6 separate regions of the Homo sapiens genome follow, and regions 2, 3, 4, 5 and 6 are each linked to region 1. Evidence: promoter capture Hi-C in 16 types of primary human blood cells and fetal thymus (Javierre and others, 2016). All regions are on one chromosome and are shown on one strand. Each heading gives the region's core, a stretch centred on a gene start or on the middle of the fragment in contact. The rest is flanking DNA. Distances are from core to core; before and after follow the strand shown.

Evidence for each region. The method cuts DNA at HindIII sites, captures the fragments that hold promoters and counts their contacts. A CHiCAGO score of 5 or more calls a contact.
Region 2: a fragment that was not itself captured here is called in contact with the fragment with the promoter of LTV1 in region 1 in 4 of 17 cell types (erythroblasts, megakaryocytes, M2 macrophages and 1 more); the score reaches 7.2 in erythroblasts.
Region 3: a contact is called between a fragment that was not itself captured here and the fragment with the promoter of LTV1 in region 1, in 2 of 17 cell types (erythroblasts and M1 macrophages). The highest score is 7.1, in erythroblasts.
Region 4: a contact is called between a fragment that was not itself captured here and the fragment with the promoter of LTV1 in region 1, in 2 of 17 cell types (megakaryocytes and erythroblasts). The highest score is 6.2, in megakaryocytes.
Region 5: a fragment that was not itself captured here is called in contact with the fragment with the promoter of LTV1 in region 1 in 1 of 17 cell types (erythroblasts); the score reaches 5.3 in erythroblasts.
Region 6: a fragment that was not itself captured here is called in contact with the fragment with the promoter of LTV1 in region 1 in 1 of 17 cell types (erythroblasts); the score reaches 5.3 in erythroblasts.

What each region holds. Positions count from the first base shown.
Region 1 is chr6:143,841,997-143,844,644 of GRCh38, reverse strand. LTV1 (LTV1 ribosome biogenesis factor) reads right to left here and starts at 1,307. Exons shown (of 11, transcript NM_032860.5): 1 at 1,165-1,307; 2 at 28-159. The coding sequence starts at 1,167. RefSeq lists enhancers at 804-873, 1,064-1,273, 1,454-1,503. The HindIII fragment of the contact is 13,446 bases long and covers 1-2,648 here.
Region 2 is chr6:143,601,884-143,604,531 of GRCh38, reverse strand. It overlaps a transcript of PHACTR2 not described here. Among named protein-coding and RNA genes, the nearest start is that of PHACTR2-AS1, 34 kb to the right of the region's middle. RefSeq lists a silencer at 754-954. The HindIII fragment of the contact is 1,868 bases long and covers 362-2,229 here.
Region 3 is chr6:143,619,875-143,622,522 of GRCh38, reverse strand. It overlaps a transcript of PHACTR2 not described here. Among named protein-coding and RNA genes, the nearest start is that of PHACTR2-AS1, 52 kb to the right of the region's middle. The HindIII fragment of the contact is 8,835 bases long and covers 1-2,648 here.
Region 4 is chr6:143,637,561-143,640,208 of GRCh38, reverse strand. It overlaps a transcript of PHACTR2 not described here. Among named protein-coding and RNA genes, the nearest start is that of PHACTR2, 39 kb to the left of the region's middle. RefSeq lists an enhancer at 2,101-2,644. The HindIII fragment of the contact is 1,679 bases long and covers 520-2,198 here.
Region 5 is chr6:143,693,129-143,695,776 of GRCh38, reverse strand. All of the region lies in intron 1 of PHACTR2 (phosphatase and actin regulator 2), which reads right to left. Among named protein-coding and RNA genes, the nearest start is that of PHACTR2, 16 kb to the right of the region's middle. The HindIII fragment of the contact is 4,723 bases long and covers 1-2,648 here.
Region 6 is chr6:143,712,713-143,715,360 of GRCh38, reverse strand. The region is part of intron 2 of PHACTR2 (phosphatase and actin regulator 2); the gene reads right to left. Among named protein-coding and RNA genes, the nearest start is that of PHACTR2, 36 kb to the right of the region's middle. The HindIII fragment of the contact is 4,013 bases long and covers 1-2,648 here.

The sequences.
Region 1 (2,648 bases), core at 58-2,557:
ACTGACTGGCTAAAGAACAGGACCTACTTTTTGTGTGGGCAATAGAACCCTCTGGGGTGCACTCTCATCTGCTGCTAAAGGATCTCGTTGGCTCCGGTGGACCAAGTGAAAAGACACAGCTTTCTTCTTCTCTATAAAGGGCTTTTTCTTCCTGTGAGGCTTCAAAGGAACAAAATCACAACAATTAATTAAAACAGAACAAAAAGACGGAGAATAATTCCATAGTCCACACATGCATCTTTAGTAGTCATGTTAAAGATACTTTTTAAAAATCTACACTTCTAGGGCAGGCAACATCAGCTGTGTTCTGCAGAATCCATACTTAACCTTCCTTCAACAAACATTCCTTGAGCACCTACTTTGTGCCAGACCTTGTTATGGGAACTGAGAATACAGAAGTGGGAAAGTCAGATAAAGTCCCTGTTCTTAGCAAGAAAATCAAGATAATTTCCGGTGAAGAAAATATAAGACAGTGACGTGAAAATGCCTTAAAAGCTACTTTACACTGGCTGCTCAGGGAAGGCCCCTGGCCGACTGAACTAGAATGACAAGAAGCCTGCCACAACATAATCTGGAGTAGACAGCTCCACACAGAGCATCTACCAACCAGTAAATAAAATCACGACACAAACAGCTAAAGTTTAATAAGATCCATCACCTCTTTCTACATTCTTACTTCGCTATTCAATTTTGATTCTCTAAACTGGGAAACCAATTAAGTGGCTTTACTTTGGGCCCAACCTTATGCTCTCCCACAAGTTCCCTTTCTCAGAGGAAACAGACAGGCAGACACCTGCCACTCCAACGCTGAGGGAGACCAGCAGCTCCCTCTGCTCGACCCCAAGAAGCACAGGGTTGCGCGTTTGTGTCGGCAGTCACCAGCTTTTAGTTAACCGAAATCACGCAGGGCTGCAGGCTCCCAGGGATAAAACAAAAAGGCCATTCTCCTCTCCGGGCCACATCCCAGGGAGGCTCGGCGGTGGGAGACTGTAACTTGCAAAGAATGCCCACGGTGGTGACGTTGGCCCATTTCGGGGTACCGTGCCGCAAGCAGCCTCTGGCATGACCCAGACCCGGGCCGCAGTAGCCAAGGTATTACCGGAAGCAGCCTGGCCTCTGCAAAACCACAGCGCTCGGCCGCCGAAACAAGCAAGGCTTGCTCACCATGCTGCAGCCGCGCGGCGCTCACCCCCAACAGGGGCGGCGATGACACCCTCGAAGTCCGGCGGGGAGACCAAGGTCCAGCTGAAGGCCGCTTCTGTAGGCCTCACCACACGTGCAGCCCCAGGACCCGGCGATAACGTCACCCAGCCGGCCGTGGAAACGGACCAATCGCCGAGGAGCTGATGGGTCGCGACCGGAAGTTACATAGGCTCGCTGCGTCTCCACGATCGCGAGAAGCCACCGGGAGGTGGGGCTAGCTCGGCTCCCACCCCTGGGCGGGCTGTACTTTTCCGGCCTTTAGTCTCCCGCCGGGCAAAGGGAATCGTGGGGGTCCTTAACGTTGAGGCGCCACAGAGGGGTTTCTGCTTGTGGACGAACCTTTTATAGCTCCCTCTACGGAGACCAGAGGGGACGAATCTAGCATCCCCCTTGACTTGTGTCCCTTACCTATTCCCAACCATAAAAAACAAAGCCGCGGACACGGAAGGGAGGCGACCACCCCGCTGGGGTGCTGGGGTCGCCAAGTTTCAGGTTCCCTCTCCGGGTGGGGGCGGAGTCGGTTGCCGTAGCAACGGAGGCTGGGGCCTTGCCTTTATAGACTGCATCAGACTTGATCAGGTTATATTTTCCACTGTTTCATGAACTGCTTTCATCTGCCCTGTTAACCAAACCCCCGAGACTCTGTTAACTGTAGAGGCATTTGAACTAATAAAATATATTCAGAATCTCTGGTGTTTGAATGTTAACTTTCTCCCCCTGTTTAAACAAATAGGCTATAAGCACGCATTCTTAGGAAGATTTCAGGCCGGCGTTGGCGTACTCACATAGCTTTTCTTGGACGAAAGTGTGTGGTAAATGCAGTCACTTTCATCAGCAGACCTTTTTTTCAAATTTGTTTCCCCAACTTCCCAGTTTCTGGTGACCTCTCAATGAATGGCTTACCCTGGATTGTGTCTTTATGCCGTAGGCATTATCACTGTAAGTATTTGTGGAGTATTATTCTTTTATTACAGTAAAAATTATAGAAATAGGCCAGGCGCGGTGGCTCATGTCTGTCATCCCAGCACTTTGGGAGGCCGAAGCGGGTGGATCACCTGAGGTCAGGAGTTCAAGACCAGACTAGCCAACGTGGTGAAACCCCGTCTCTACTAAAAATACAAAACTTAGCCAGGTGTGATGGCAGGTGCCTGTAATCCCAACTACTTGGGAGGTTGAGGCAGGAGAATAGCTTGAACCCGGGAGGCAGAGGTTGCAGTGAGCTGAGATCATGCCATTGCACTCCAGCCTGGGCGACAAGAGCGAAACTCTGTCTCAAAAATATATATATATAGAAATAATTTAGGTTAGGACCATAAAACTTGTCTTAGGATATTGCTTTGTAACAGAGATAATACATAGCACTCCTATGTGCCAGAGATTCGTTGTTATTATTCATTATATAGAATTAAAAGATCCAAGGGGGCAGTTTTCATTTCCTTTCAATC
Region 2 (2,648 bases), core at 46-2,545, 240 kb after region 1:
TAGGTGGCAATAATACTCTGCCTTTCCTAACTGAAATTCGAGCCCAGGGGGATAAAGGCCAGTTCAGATGGATTCTATGGAGAAAAAGAGCAGAAACACCACTCCAAGGGGCAGAGAGACTCCAAAATCACAGGCTAAAAAGAACATAGTTTTACTTTTAGAGGATGAATTGGAATCCTTTCTTACAAGATCAGGCTCTGTTTCTCAGGATGGAGAAGTAAAAGAGTAAACTGTCCACGTAATTAGATTGCTTGGTCCAGTAGATCTCTTGGATACTCAAATGGGCCTATCTGACTATTTCAACCTTTTGAGTTTCTGATTCATCCAAAGAATCAGAACATTGACTACCAATGAGAAAGCTTGCTCCCTATTCATTTTGGAACATATTCTACTGAAAGTGTCTTCTTTTCTTTTCTCTTTTTTTTTTTTTTTTTTGAATCAGAGTCTCTCTCTGTCACCAGGCTGGAGTGCAGTGGCATGATCTCGGCTCACTGCAACCTCTGCCTCCCGGGTTCAAGTGATTCTCGAGCCTCAGTTCCTGGATAGCTGGGGTTACAGGCACCTGTCACCATGCCCAGGTAACTTTTTGTATTTTTAGTAGAGACAGTGTTTCACCATGTTGGCCAGGTTGTCTTGAACTCCTGACCTCAAGTGATCCACCCACCTCGGTCTCTCAAAGTGCTGGGATTACAGGCATGAGCCACCCCACCCAGCTGAAAATCTCTTCTAAAAACATTTGAGCCACTGCTTTTACAAATACAGCTATCAAATAGTTTTGACAAGCAAAATGCTTGGATATATAGCTCTCCAAGGTACTAAACCAAATCCCTGAACTATTAACCAAAAACAGTTGATAGGAGAAAGTTTTGCAACAGATAGTGTTTCCAGGAAGATCTGGGCAAGAAAGATTATACATTTATCCAATGTTCTACTATGTGGATTTTAGGCCAATGCTATTTGACATGACTGTTTTCTATTCTGCCTAACTATTCTCCTTTTGAGGTTTCTCTTCTGATGTAAGGTGTGGGGAGGGGTCTCCTGAATTTCTGGATAACGTTTGCTTCTCTTCCCTTATTCATGGTCCTTGGAGTGTGCCTGATACCTCTTTTTTTTTTTTTAAGGCAGAGCAACATACACTGCTCCTTGGCTATAATTTTTTTCCCTGTTATATTCAAAGTTGAGTCCAATCCCTCTCCCCGACTGCAAAATCCCATGGCAGTGGTCCCTATACCTATTGCAATGGTCCCAAATAAAACCTGCCTTACCGTGCTTGAACAAGTGTCATCGAATAATTTTTTAACAGCAAATTGTTGGAGGTAAAGACATTTTTAAATGTCTTCAATTAGTTTAGCTACTTCCAAGTATTTTTTTTTTTTTTTTTTTTTTGAGACAGAGTCTTGCTCTTGTCACCCAGGCTAGAGTGCAGTGGTGCAATCTTGGCTCACTGCAGCCTCCGTCTCATGGATTCTAGCAGTTCTCCTGTCTCAGCCTCCTGAGTAGCTGGGATTACAGGCATGCACCACCATGTCTGGCTAGTTTTTGTATTTTTAGTAGAGACGGGGTTTTGCCATGTTGGCCAGGCTGGTCTCAAACTCCTGACCACGGGTGATCTGCCCACCTCGGCCTCCCAAAGTGCTGGGGTTACAGGCATGAGCCACTGTGCCCAGCCCACACTTACCCTCTTTACCATCTTAATGCAGAGGCTGTGAAACTTTTCTGCACATCCAGATTGCCTGGTGTCTGGACCTTACATAAGGCAACATCCATCAGACACAGTCTTCCGACAAGTTTGGACTTTTGGCCAAGGTGGTTTGGTGAATCCACACTTGGACAACACCCCACTGCTCCAAACACATAGCAATGATAGATAAAATATTAAATAGGTAAATCACAGCTAGGCACAAGAAGCTAGCTGACCATTTCGATGAATGAGCAGGGAGCCAAAAGCTGAAGGCTGTGGGTGAGGTTTCTGCAATGTCCTGCTGTACCCAAGGGACAAAAGCAGAGGTCAAGGCCAGATGCGCAGCTCCTATGTAGTAATGGCTCTAAAAGAGCTCCACATGAGAAAGGAGCAATCAGAGCCAGGCTCTGCTTGAATGGAGAGTCCTGGCTCAAGAAATGAGGTTGGAAAAACAAATGGCTGATGCCTTAGTTCCAGGAGCCATGGCTTTATAAAGCCTTGAGGGGCAGGGAGAGGATAAGTCTTCATAATCAATAATTAACTAAGCTTCACGTGGGTCCCTAAATACTGGATCGGCAGTATGCCCTCAAAATTGAGCAGAAATTTCCTCAAGATGTCATTAGAAAACCTGACTAGATGGGAAGGTTAGAGGGACAAGGTGGAGATGACTTCAAAACCATAAAACTATTAGGGAGGGGGAGAGCGAGAGTGAAAACAAAACTAAAGGAACTAATGTTAGGCAGCACAATGAGGTGACTATAGTTAACAATCGTATTTTATATTTCAAAATAACTAAAAGAGTGGAATTGGAATGTTCCTAACATAAAAAATGATAAATGCTTGAGGCAATGAATATCTCCATTACCTTGATTTGGTCATTACAAGTTGTATGATTGCATCAAAATATCAGATGTAACCCATATGTATAACTATTATGTATCAATAATAATTAAAAATTTTTTAAAAA
Region 3 (2,648 bases), core at 64-2,563, 220 kb after region 1:
AGTCAGCCAGCATGCATTAAATACTTACTGTGTGCCACATCTGGGGTAGGACTAAGGAAACCAACGGTAAGGTAACATTGCCCTTGAGCAGTTTCCTGGCCAGTGGGGAGACCAGATGTACGCGAGGAGAACAGCACATTGCCAAGCAAAGCAGCAGGAACACACAGTACTTGGGATGAGAGGAAGAGTCTGGGGAGCTGGGACCTAGGACTACATGACCAGAGGTGGTGACAGTGCTGGTGACACAGGGGCCTTGTGTGACGTTTTGGGCTTGAATTTTATCCTGAGGTTTGGGCAGGATCTCTGGAGATTTCTAAATTGGATGATGAGGAAACATTAAAAGATATAACCTAGCTGTCCACCTCCATTATGTCAAGAACCAGGAAATCAACCGAACTGCAACTCGGCCCGAATAAATGTAAAAAATTCACAAACTCCAGCCCACACAAGTGAATCATACACTGCCCAAGGCCTCAGTGGGGTCTGTGTACTATCATTTTGAACAAAAGGATAACACTCTTGATTATTTGGTTTCCCAGACCACACACACAAAAAGAAGAAAACAGCAGATTAGAAGGAGGGAGATGGGAGCTGCCAGAAGCAAGTGCACAACAGCAAAATGTGAGAGGTGAGCAAGGCAGGAACTCAGGGAGCCAGAGCAGGGGGACCTGGGGCCAAGTGATCACCTTGGGAGGTAGCTGAGAGGAAGAAATGAGCTACTGTTCGCAAAGATTTAAAGTCCACGTAGGTGCAAAATGAATCTATGTTACATAATACTTACTACTCAAGCCAAGTACAATCAACCCTAAACTACAGATGAGGAAAGTGAGGCTCATGGATATGCCCAAGGCCCCATACCAGCAGGTAGAACAGGCTCAGCCAGGAACTGCATTCTTCTTTTACAACTCTAATTCCATTCCTTTGCACAATCCCACACTATTCAAGGGTTGGGGTATGTTCAATTTGAGAAAGCCAGTAAATGTGATTAAATATAAGAAAGAGTTGCAATTTAATGATTCTCATGCAAAATACCAATTAAAATAAAGCGTTGGTGCTTGACAGGTGAGCTTCCTTGTAGCTGCTGGCTTCCCAAGTCCTGTGCTACTCTAGAGAGAGAGGCAGGAACTATGGGAAGGATTTGCCCTTCTGCACCGAGGAGGCCTGAGAGGGCTCGGGATCCACAGGAACTCATTCGCGCCCTCCTGAGTTTTCTTTGTTGTCAATTCACACCAAATTGAAGAAGCCAGAATGAAACCTGTGGGGGCCTCCTGATGTTTTCTGTAGACCCGTTTCATAAGCCAGGTGTCTACCTTGGTCTCTCCCTATAATCTGTCCACATTCCCTACCCAATCCTCCAATCCCTTCTCTGAAACTGGATTTCCAAGCTCAGTCTCTGTGTGAAAATGCTAAGGCTTCTTTAATGATCCTGCTCTTGTTCTTTTCCTGGAGGTTTGCACTGTCCCCCATCTGCTGCCCACCTGCCATATAAGTATATGCCCTGCATATGTGGGCTCCACTAATTAATGAGCCTCTATTGGAATTTCCAGCTGATTTCCAGTCCCTGATCACCTGGTTGCATATCCTAGTACAGAGAGCTTCAACATAGCTGATGGGGACAGTTGTGTTTTGTGACCAAAACTGTGACCAAAGCCTGTCCTCCAGTGAGACAGCCTTTGAGGCCAGGGCAAATACAACCACATTTCCCTAAAAACAATATTGCATGCGTCCCAAAGGGTAAACTGTGCCTGGCTTTCCCCCTGCATAAAAGCCAATGGAAATCACATTTGGCATGGCCTATGCCTTGTGGGTTGGCCGATGGCCAAGCATATACTCAAGCAGACATGGATTTTATATGTCAGGGCAACATTTTTTATGTGCAGTTAAGCTGTGCATGAGGCTGCTGTCTGAAAAAATAAATAAATAAACTTCTCTGCCTTAGTTTCATATCTATAAAAGCAGAACTGATGATTTGAAGTATTTACATAATTCACCGGAGAACTGTGAGAAACAAGCTATATTTGTAAGCATTTTTGAAGATGAGAGGAATTTGGTGAAGTATGTACAGCATTTTTTTTTTCCAAAAAAAAAAAACTTCATTTCTTACTAGCCCTGCATTGAAAACATAATTTTCTGGGACATGATTTTGTTTTACAGTAACCCAGGTGCTCAAGGGTACTTTGGGAGTTTTTGTAGTTTCGAGGTTCCATGAAAACCTTCCCTGAGACAGCTAAAGACAAAGCCCACATCTGTTAGTATAAGAGACACCTTTGTTTATGGAGCATTAGGGCTGTGACAAAAAGACTGACATAAGCCAGGATATTTAGAAGTTAAAGCTGGAGCTTTATTCTAAATGTATGCTACAGAGCTCCTGGTTTTCCACGAAGTCTGGATTTTAAAAACAAAGTTGGCTTTAATTTTCAACTATCTGGCTTTTTTCAACTATCGTCACAGTCATACAGTTATTTAAACAAATGTCTTTGAACTTCCTTAACTTAAAAAAGTGACCCTAAGGTTAATGAATGTTGTGAAATGCTTACTGTTTGAACAAATGAACTGACCCCCCACCCCCGACCGAGTGACATGTTCTGTAAGTACCACAAGCAAGCATGATCGGCGCTGTGAAGACTATAGAATCTCACACAGGGGAC
Region 4 (2,648 bases), core at 110-2,609, 200 kb after region 1:
GTTGTCATTATCAAGCATTATGCACTGTACATAATTATATGTGCTACACTTATATACAACTGGCAGTGCAGTAGGTTTGTTTACACCAGCATCAGCACAAACTTGTGAGTAAAGCATTTGCACTATGACAGCACAACAACTGTGACATCACTAGGTTATAGGAATTCTTCAACTCTATTACAGTTACACAGAATTACCATCATATATGTGGCCCACTGTTGGCAGAAACATCATTATGTAGCACATGACTCTATTAATAACAAGTTGTTATTCCTTGCTTCCTCCAGCTTCTGGAGGCTAGGAACCAGAACACATTATCTTTAGAGTAGTTATGTTGACTTCTAATTTCATTGCACTACAGTGAGAAAATGTAATGCAAATCAAATCACCCTTCAGTGGTTCTTAAAACTTCTTTTGTGACTGTGTAAATAGTCAATATTTGTGTATGTTTCATATTTGCCTAAGAGGAATGAATATCTACTTGTTGTGTGCAGAGTTCTTGATCAATTACATCAAGCTTGTCAACTGTCTTGCTCAAACCATCGCTATCCTTACTCATGATGGGGTATGCTAATCCATCATCAAAGGGAGAGTTAGTAATCCCTCCCGCTATAATCAGGCTTTCTCACTCCCAAACCTAAAGACTTTTCCCCAGCACAATTAATTCTTTTTGAATGGGCCAAATGTCATCTAGATGCCAAAAGTAAAAATAGGTGATCTACATAAGCAGAAAACAAAAGTGTGAATTAAAAATAAGAATTATTTTGCTTGTGTCACTTATAAAATGGCTCTGAATATGCTTTCACTTAGTAATTTTTGAAATGTTTTGAGCAATGATAGCCTTGATGGCATAAACACTAACTCCCAACGTGATTTAAAGATTAAATCACTATATAAAGTTCTGTTACATTTGTTTTACAACATTACATTGCTATAGGTATATCTTACCATTAATTTGTTTTGGAAAGACAGACTGTACTTCAGGTACTTTGCAGCAATTGTCATTTTATGAAGCATGTCATTGGTGGCTCATGAAAGCAGAAAGATGTAATGATTCAAAAATAATTCAGAAGAATATTGGACACTGTTAAAAAATTATGCATAAGTATGTAGATTCATCTGACTTTATCAGCCCTTGGCTGAGGCTTTTGATGCTACACTGAATAATTTTATTGCCTGACAACTGGGCAAAGAGAAAATGATCATTAAGGAGATAATGTCATTCATAGTTTTGGGGAAGCTACGAACACTCTAAATTACAATTTTTAGACAGAATAAATTTTGTAAACTACTGATTATTAAGGACAAATATGCAATTGGGCAGGAAAATTGACAGAGTAGAACAAAGGAATTTATCTATATTGCTAGAAAGAGCAATGGACAAGACACATGTACTTCCCTATATGCAAGAAGCATTGTCTGTGGATTTACTATTCTTAAAATATTTGAAGGAAAAGTATGATGAATCTGCCTGCTAACATTCATCTTCTAACTTCACTGCCCTTTTTTAAAAGTATGTATTTAGCATTTTTTCTTAAGCAAATATACATTTGGGGTGTTTAATGCTTAATATAAAATGAAAAATTAGCTCAAAACTTGGATAGCTGGGTGTGTGTGTGTGTGTGTGTGTGTATGTGTGTGTGTGTAATACTTTTTTTTTTTTTTGAGACAAGGTCTTGCTCTGTGGCCCAGGCTGGAGTGCAGTGGTATGATCATAGTCACTGCAGCCTTGAACTCCTGGGCTCAAGCAATCCTCCCATCTCAGCCTCCTGAGTAGCTGGGACTATGGGCATGCACCACCATGCCCAGCTAATCTTTTAATTATTATTTTTGTATAGACGGGGTCTTGCTATGTTGCCCAGGCTGGTTTCAAACTCCTGGCCTAAAGTGATCCTCCCACCTTGGCTTCCCAAAGTGCTGGGATGATAGGCATGAGCCACTGCACCTGGCATTCCTCTGCTTCTTTTTAAGCCATAGCGATCACTGAATTTGTAACTGCCAATCAAGCTCTCAGCAATACTATAACTTAAGTCTCTATTTGCTACAAGGAAGACCTTAGTATTTGTGGTTTCTGTCTATATTTACTGAAATAATTCATCAACTACACACTAAAAATATTATTGTAACCTTGCTCTGGAATCATTAGATTGTTTTTACCAGAAATGCTATTGCTTTTGTTTGAAATTGACATGAAAGCTTTGTGGTGGACTGACACTTAGATGATCCCCCCATGATCACTGCCTCCTGGTGTTCAAGCCTTTGTGTAATCCTCTCCCTTTAAGTATGGGTGGGACCTGTGTCTTGTTTCTAACAACTAGAACATAGCAAAGGTGACGGGATGTCACTCCCATGACTATGTTATCACGTTTGCCAAAGGCGAAGGGATGTTTCTCCTGTGATTGTATTATGTTATAAAAGACTCCCATTGCTACAGCAGATTTGCATTAGAGCCTTGCTCTCCTTGCTGGCTTTGAAGAAGCAAGCTGCCATGAGTGCTGCAGCTGCAAAGAACTGACTCTGCTAACATGGGACCAGTCCCTTTTCCCCAGTCAAGCCTCCACATGAGGACTGTGTCCTGCCCAACACCTAAAGTGTAGCCTTGCAGAAGACCCAGCTAAGTTGTGCCTGAACTCCTGACCCATACAAGC
Region 5 (2,648 bases), core at 109-2,608, 150 kb after region 1:
TATGATTCCATTAACTTCAGATATTTTAAGTAAAGACCACCTATAAATTCAATGTAGATGACAAAGTCCCAGAGGATTCTTGATTATGAGACTCATGTTATCCACTGGACTGGCTAAGAAATCATTATCAAAGGGCCCTCTGTTTATTCTGCCCTTCCCTTTTAAAGATCTAGCAGGAACCTTATGCTCATTCCCTTTGCCTCTAGGACTGCAGTGCCCAGCAATGAAAATAAACCTGGACTGGCACTGCAAAACCACAAGCAATTAATTAAATCCTTATCAGTTATTTCCACTGTCTATAGTAAGACGCCATTTTTATGCCTTAGGGTATTGAATGTTGAATCTGAAATAGGGTCTTGGATCCAAGTGTTCTGTTCTCAACTTGGAAGAACACCAATATTCTATGACTTTTAACCTTCCTCAGATTGAGTGCTCAGCATATTCTAATCTGCAAGATGCCTTAAAAGTCTACAATGACAGAGTCACAACTAAAGGGTGTAGAGGTTTGGCTAAGAGCTTCTGCATGCCCTGATCCCCATGCCCAATCCATCATAATCTGGATTCGGATCAGGGCCTAAGAGAAGTGAGTCTTGTTTGCAGCCTTTGTAGAATGCTTGTATCTCGCCATCTCAAGGCAATTCCTGGTCCAAGAGATGCCTATAAAATTAAATAATTTCTGAGGTTTAAGGAGAGTTTTAATCATTTTACAAAAGGACCTAGGGTCACTAGATTCTGATGCACCCAATTCTTATTTGTGTGCTTAACCAGCTTGAGGGACCTTTTTCAATAAAATAAGGAATTTTGAACCTAGAGGAGGTGGGTGTGCTGTTGAAGCATTATCTTCACGTTGACAAGATAAGCAGTCCACCAAAACTGACTGCACCAGTTAAAAGTTTCCTGTGAGATTTACGAATTGATAGGAAGACATCATTGGAAGCCTGCTAGGTGGTTTACAATGCATATGGGCTAGAATACAAATGCAGTTAGTCGTAATGAATCATCTTCGAATTACCAACCTGTCTCAATGGGGCTCTGCGTTTTCTGGCAAGAACATTCTTGTTCTGACTTTACTTTGACAGGTGTTTAAACACCATCTTTCTTTAACACGCTTATTCATTTTCTTTCTTATTTTAGCAGCTCTTTGAAAAGAGACATGTCACCCTGCGGATTTCAAACACATCTAAGACAATGAAAGCATACAGAGCCAGCAAAACCAAACACAGAAAAGGAAGACTATATATGTAGTGACATTTGAGAACAAAACATTTCTCCAAATACAGGGCTTCACATTCAGGGCCCTCAAAGAAGATTATAAAACCAGTCAGGTGGCCACATTAGTTACTGACCACACTGGGATTAGGATCTTGATAAGTAGTTTGGGGGTTTCTTTCCTGAACATTACTCGATCAATTTGGTGCTCCAATCACAAGATACTGGTATTGATTTCTTACACAATGGCAGAAACATAATGTCACATATTCCATTTCTTTCTTTATTTATTTCCTTTTTTCTTCCTTCCTTTCCTTTCCCTCCCTTCCTTCCTTTTTTCCTTCCTCCTTCTACTTCTTCCTCCTTCCTTTCCTCCCTCCCTCCCTCCTTCCTTCCCTCCCCACTCCCTGTCGCAGGCCTTCCTTCCTTCCTTCCTTCCTTCTTTCCTTCCTTCTTCCCTCCCTTCCTTCTTTCCCTCCTTCCTTCTTTTTCTTTAAGATAGGGTCTCACTCTGTCTGTCACCCAGGCTGGAGTGCAGTGGTGTGATCAAGGATCACCACAGGCTTGATCTCCTGGGTTCGGGTGATCCTCCCATCTTGGACTCTTGGGTATCTGGGACTAGAGGTGCACACCACCACACCCACATAATTTTTTCTGTTCTTTGTATAGACGGGTTTCGCCACATTGCCCAGGCTGGTCATGAACACATATTCCATTTTCTAAATTTACCCCATATGCTCTACAGCCTATGCTTTACTTCCTAAGTGTACTGCCTAGTCACACTGGTTAATTTCCATTGCTGAAAATCACCTTCAATGCCTCCTCTTACTCAAGTAATATGAATATGGCACTGTTGAGGTGAGTGGGGAAGAGGCCTTAATTGGTTAAGAAATGAAACTCAAAAATCAGAAAAAAGACAATGGATGCAGTGTGCTTTGGGACATTGCTAATAAGTCCTGGTTTGTACATTGGTTTTAGGGACATTGCTTAAAGTCCTTAAATGGCCTATTTAAAAAATACAGAAAAAAGGGGCTGGGCACGGTGGCTCATGCCTGTAATCCCAGCACTTTGGGAGGCCAAGGCAGGTGGATCACCTGAGGTCAGGATTTCGAGACCAGCCTGGCCAACAGGGCGAAACCCCGTCTCTACTAAAAATACAAAAATTAGCCAGGTGTGGTGGTGCGTGCCTGTAGTCCCAGCTACTTGGGAGGCTGAGGCAGGAGAACCGCTGGAACCTGGGAAGTGGAGGTTGCAGTGAGCCAAGATCACACCACTGCACTCCAGCCTGGGTGATGGAGTAAGACTCCGTCTCAAAAAAATAAAAACAAAACAAAAACAAAAAAAGGACACTACTATGGGCTGAATTGTGTCCCTCAAAATTCATACGTTAAAGTCTTAACTCCCAGTACCTCAACATGGGACCATATTTGAATACAGGT
Region 6 (2,648 bases), core at 74-2,573, 130 kb after region 1:
ACATAGCAACCTTCCTGCTGGGGGTTAGGGGTGATGAGAAGAAGAAGAGAAAAGGCAAAAGAGAGAAAGAGAAGTCAAAGACAAACAAGACAATGGTAGCTTTTGTAAATTAAGGAAGAGGTATTTTGGACATTAAGGCAGGACTGACTGTTCAGTAATGGAAAATGTTGTAGAGGTTGAAATGAATGAAAATAAGAGAACGACACTAAATTTAATGGTTCGGAGGCTTGGAGTAACCTCGGTGAATACAGGACACAGAGATAGATTGCAGTGGGAAAAGGAATGAGAATGTGGGAAGAAAGAAAGTAGAGGCAGCAGAGATAGGTTAGATTTTCAGTAAGTTTGGTTTTGATGGTAATACACTGTGATAAGTTAGAGAAACAACTGTGTTTATTTAGGCAGGGCATTTGTACTCTTAGCTTTGGGGAGATACAAGCATATATAAAAATCCAAAGGAAGGATGTTTATATCCTCACCTCCCACCAAATCAAATCAAATCAAAGCAAAATGGGAAAAAATGATTATGTAGGGGAAAAAAAGATGTAAATGCCATTTTGAGTTCTAACAATAGGGAAGGGATAGAAGAACCTAGAGCTTACGTGGGACCTCTCATGCAGGAGAAGAAAAGAAATGAAGGGGGGTATCTGAGAGAAGTGGACGGAAAAGAGATCTATTCTCCTGCCCTAGAATCTAACAGCCAGACACTGAACAGCCTAAATCAGAGTTGAAGATATTGGAAACTTTCTGCTTTAAAACAAGGCCAGAGAACTGGAAGCTGGGGCATAAGCCCAGCCTGCCTTATAGGGCAAGATGTCCTTTAGACGTAGAATGAGCACTCCAAAATACAACTGATTCAAGGACCACCAAAACTGGCCACGAATGGGACCCTTCTTAACTCCCACTACAATAATAAACATGCTATTACAATGCATTAATAAATTAGTGTTACATCCTATCTACTACCAATTAAGAATTCCTATAACAGAAACCCATACCAGGAAAAGTGGTATTTATCGCTGTGCGGCAGAACACAATAAGGTTCATATCCATGTGAATACCAACCCAGGAGTTTAAGAGAAGGACAAACGTAGAAGAGTTACTTTTCTTGGAAGAAATGAACTTTCTTTTATACCTCAAGATGTTGTGGGTCTGGCCTAAGGTGTACTTCATTGATTATCAGACAGCAAATGGCCCTGATCATATCCAAACAGCTTGATTCCACTGCTTGAGATAATTTTTTAAAGAAGAAAATAACTTTCTCTTGGTTATATCCAAATATTAGTTTTGTGCAAAAGTAATTGCGGTTTTTTGCCACTAAAAGTAATGGCAAAAATCGCAACTACTTTTGCACCAACTGAATATATCAGTTTTCCTCTAGATATGACATCTTTCTCCAATGTGAAAAAAACTAATGTATGATACACCATTTTGTATCTTATGTTCGTTTTCGTACGTTACGTCTGGAGCCCTGCTCCCATCTTGGGTAGTCTTGGTAACGTGAAGAGCCAGATTCTCCCAATGCTTAAGCACATGTGAGAGGGAGGCACTTGAAGAAGGCCAGTGAGGTTCCTTCCACAACCAAAAAACAGAGGAGAACAAGATGCCCAGCCAGGGACTGGAAGGAGTCAAGGGTGTAAGGGTGTCTCTGGAGACCAACAACAGAATCAGGAACTGAAGCACCTCCGAGTTTAGCACATTCAACTACCCGATTTTGCAGGCGAGAAAACTGAGGCTGATCTGACCTGTTCAAAGTCACCCAGCCGGGTGTCCTCACACAGCACAGCACCCTGTCCCTCACCTCTCACTGCCTCCTAACCCAGAAAGCCACTTAGGTGCTGAAGAGGACCCAATAACCAAACTAGCATTATTTTCCCTTAAGCCAAGTTTCTCTTCTTTCTCTATCTTTTTATTACAGAAATTTTCCAATATCTATAAGCAGAGAAATGAGAATAATAACCACCATGGACCCATTGCCCAGCTTGAACAACCCATTGCCAGTCTTCCTTTATCTATAATCTTACCTACCTCACACTCCTCCAGGATTATTTTGAAACAAATTCCAGGTAGCCTATCATTATTTCTTGTTAAATATAAAATGCTCAAATAAACTATATAGCTGCAAATGCATCCGAGACCACTTTTTTGGGGAGCTTTGATGCTCCTATTCCATATCCTTGCATTGTGTGTAGTATTTTTAATTTCATTTCACAGCTCTAGAACAAAACTCTGGTTCTTATCTTAGTACAGACCAATAAGATATGCTCTGTGACCCTGTACATCCACTAACAATATTAGACTGTGGTGCAGTGAGGAATTTTGATGAAGGGATTGCCTTGGACAGTAAGCATGGGGAACGTTGAACTTACTAAACACTTTTCTATCTTAGACACAATACACTCACACTAACACTTGTTTAAATTGGGCTGAATTCTGGCCTGAGATTTAAAGCCAGCTTTGTCCACGAGTTGATATGAAAGGCACTAAGCAATGTAACTTTTAAGGTTTCACAAATCTACAAACTAAATTAACAATCAAACATTTTCACACCAATAGGGTTGTGCCTCTACTCTCTTAAGACAGAGACCATTTATTTGTCCTAAGGATATGATAGAAATCTAAAATCAAATATAACAAAACTTTTCTTTCAT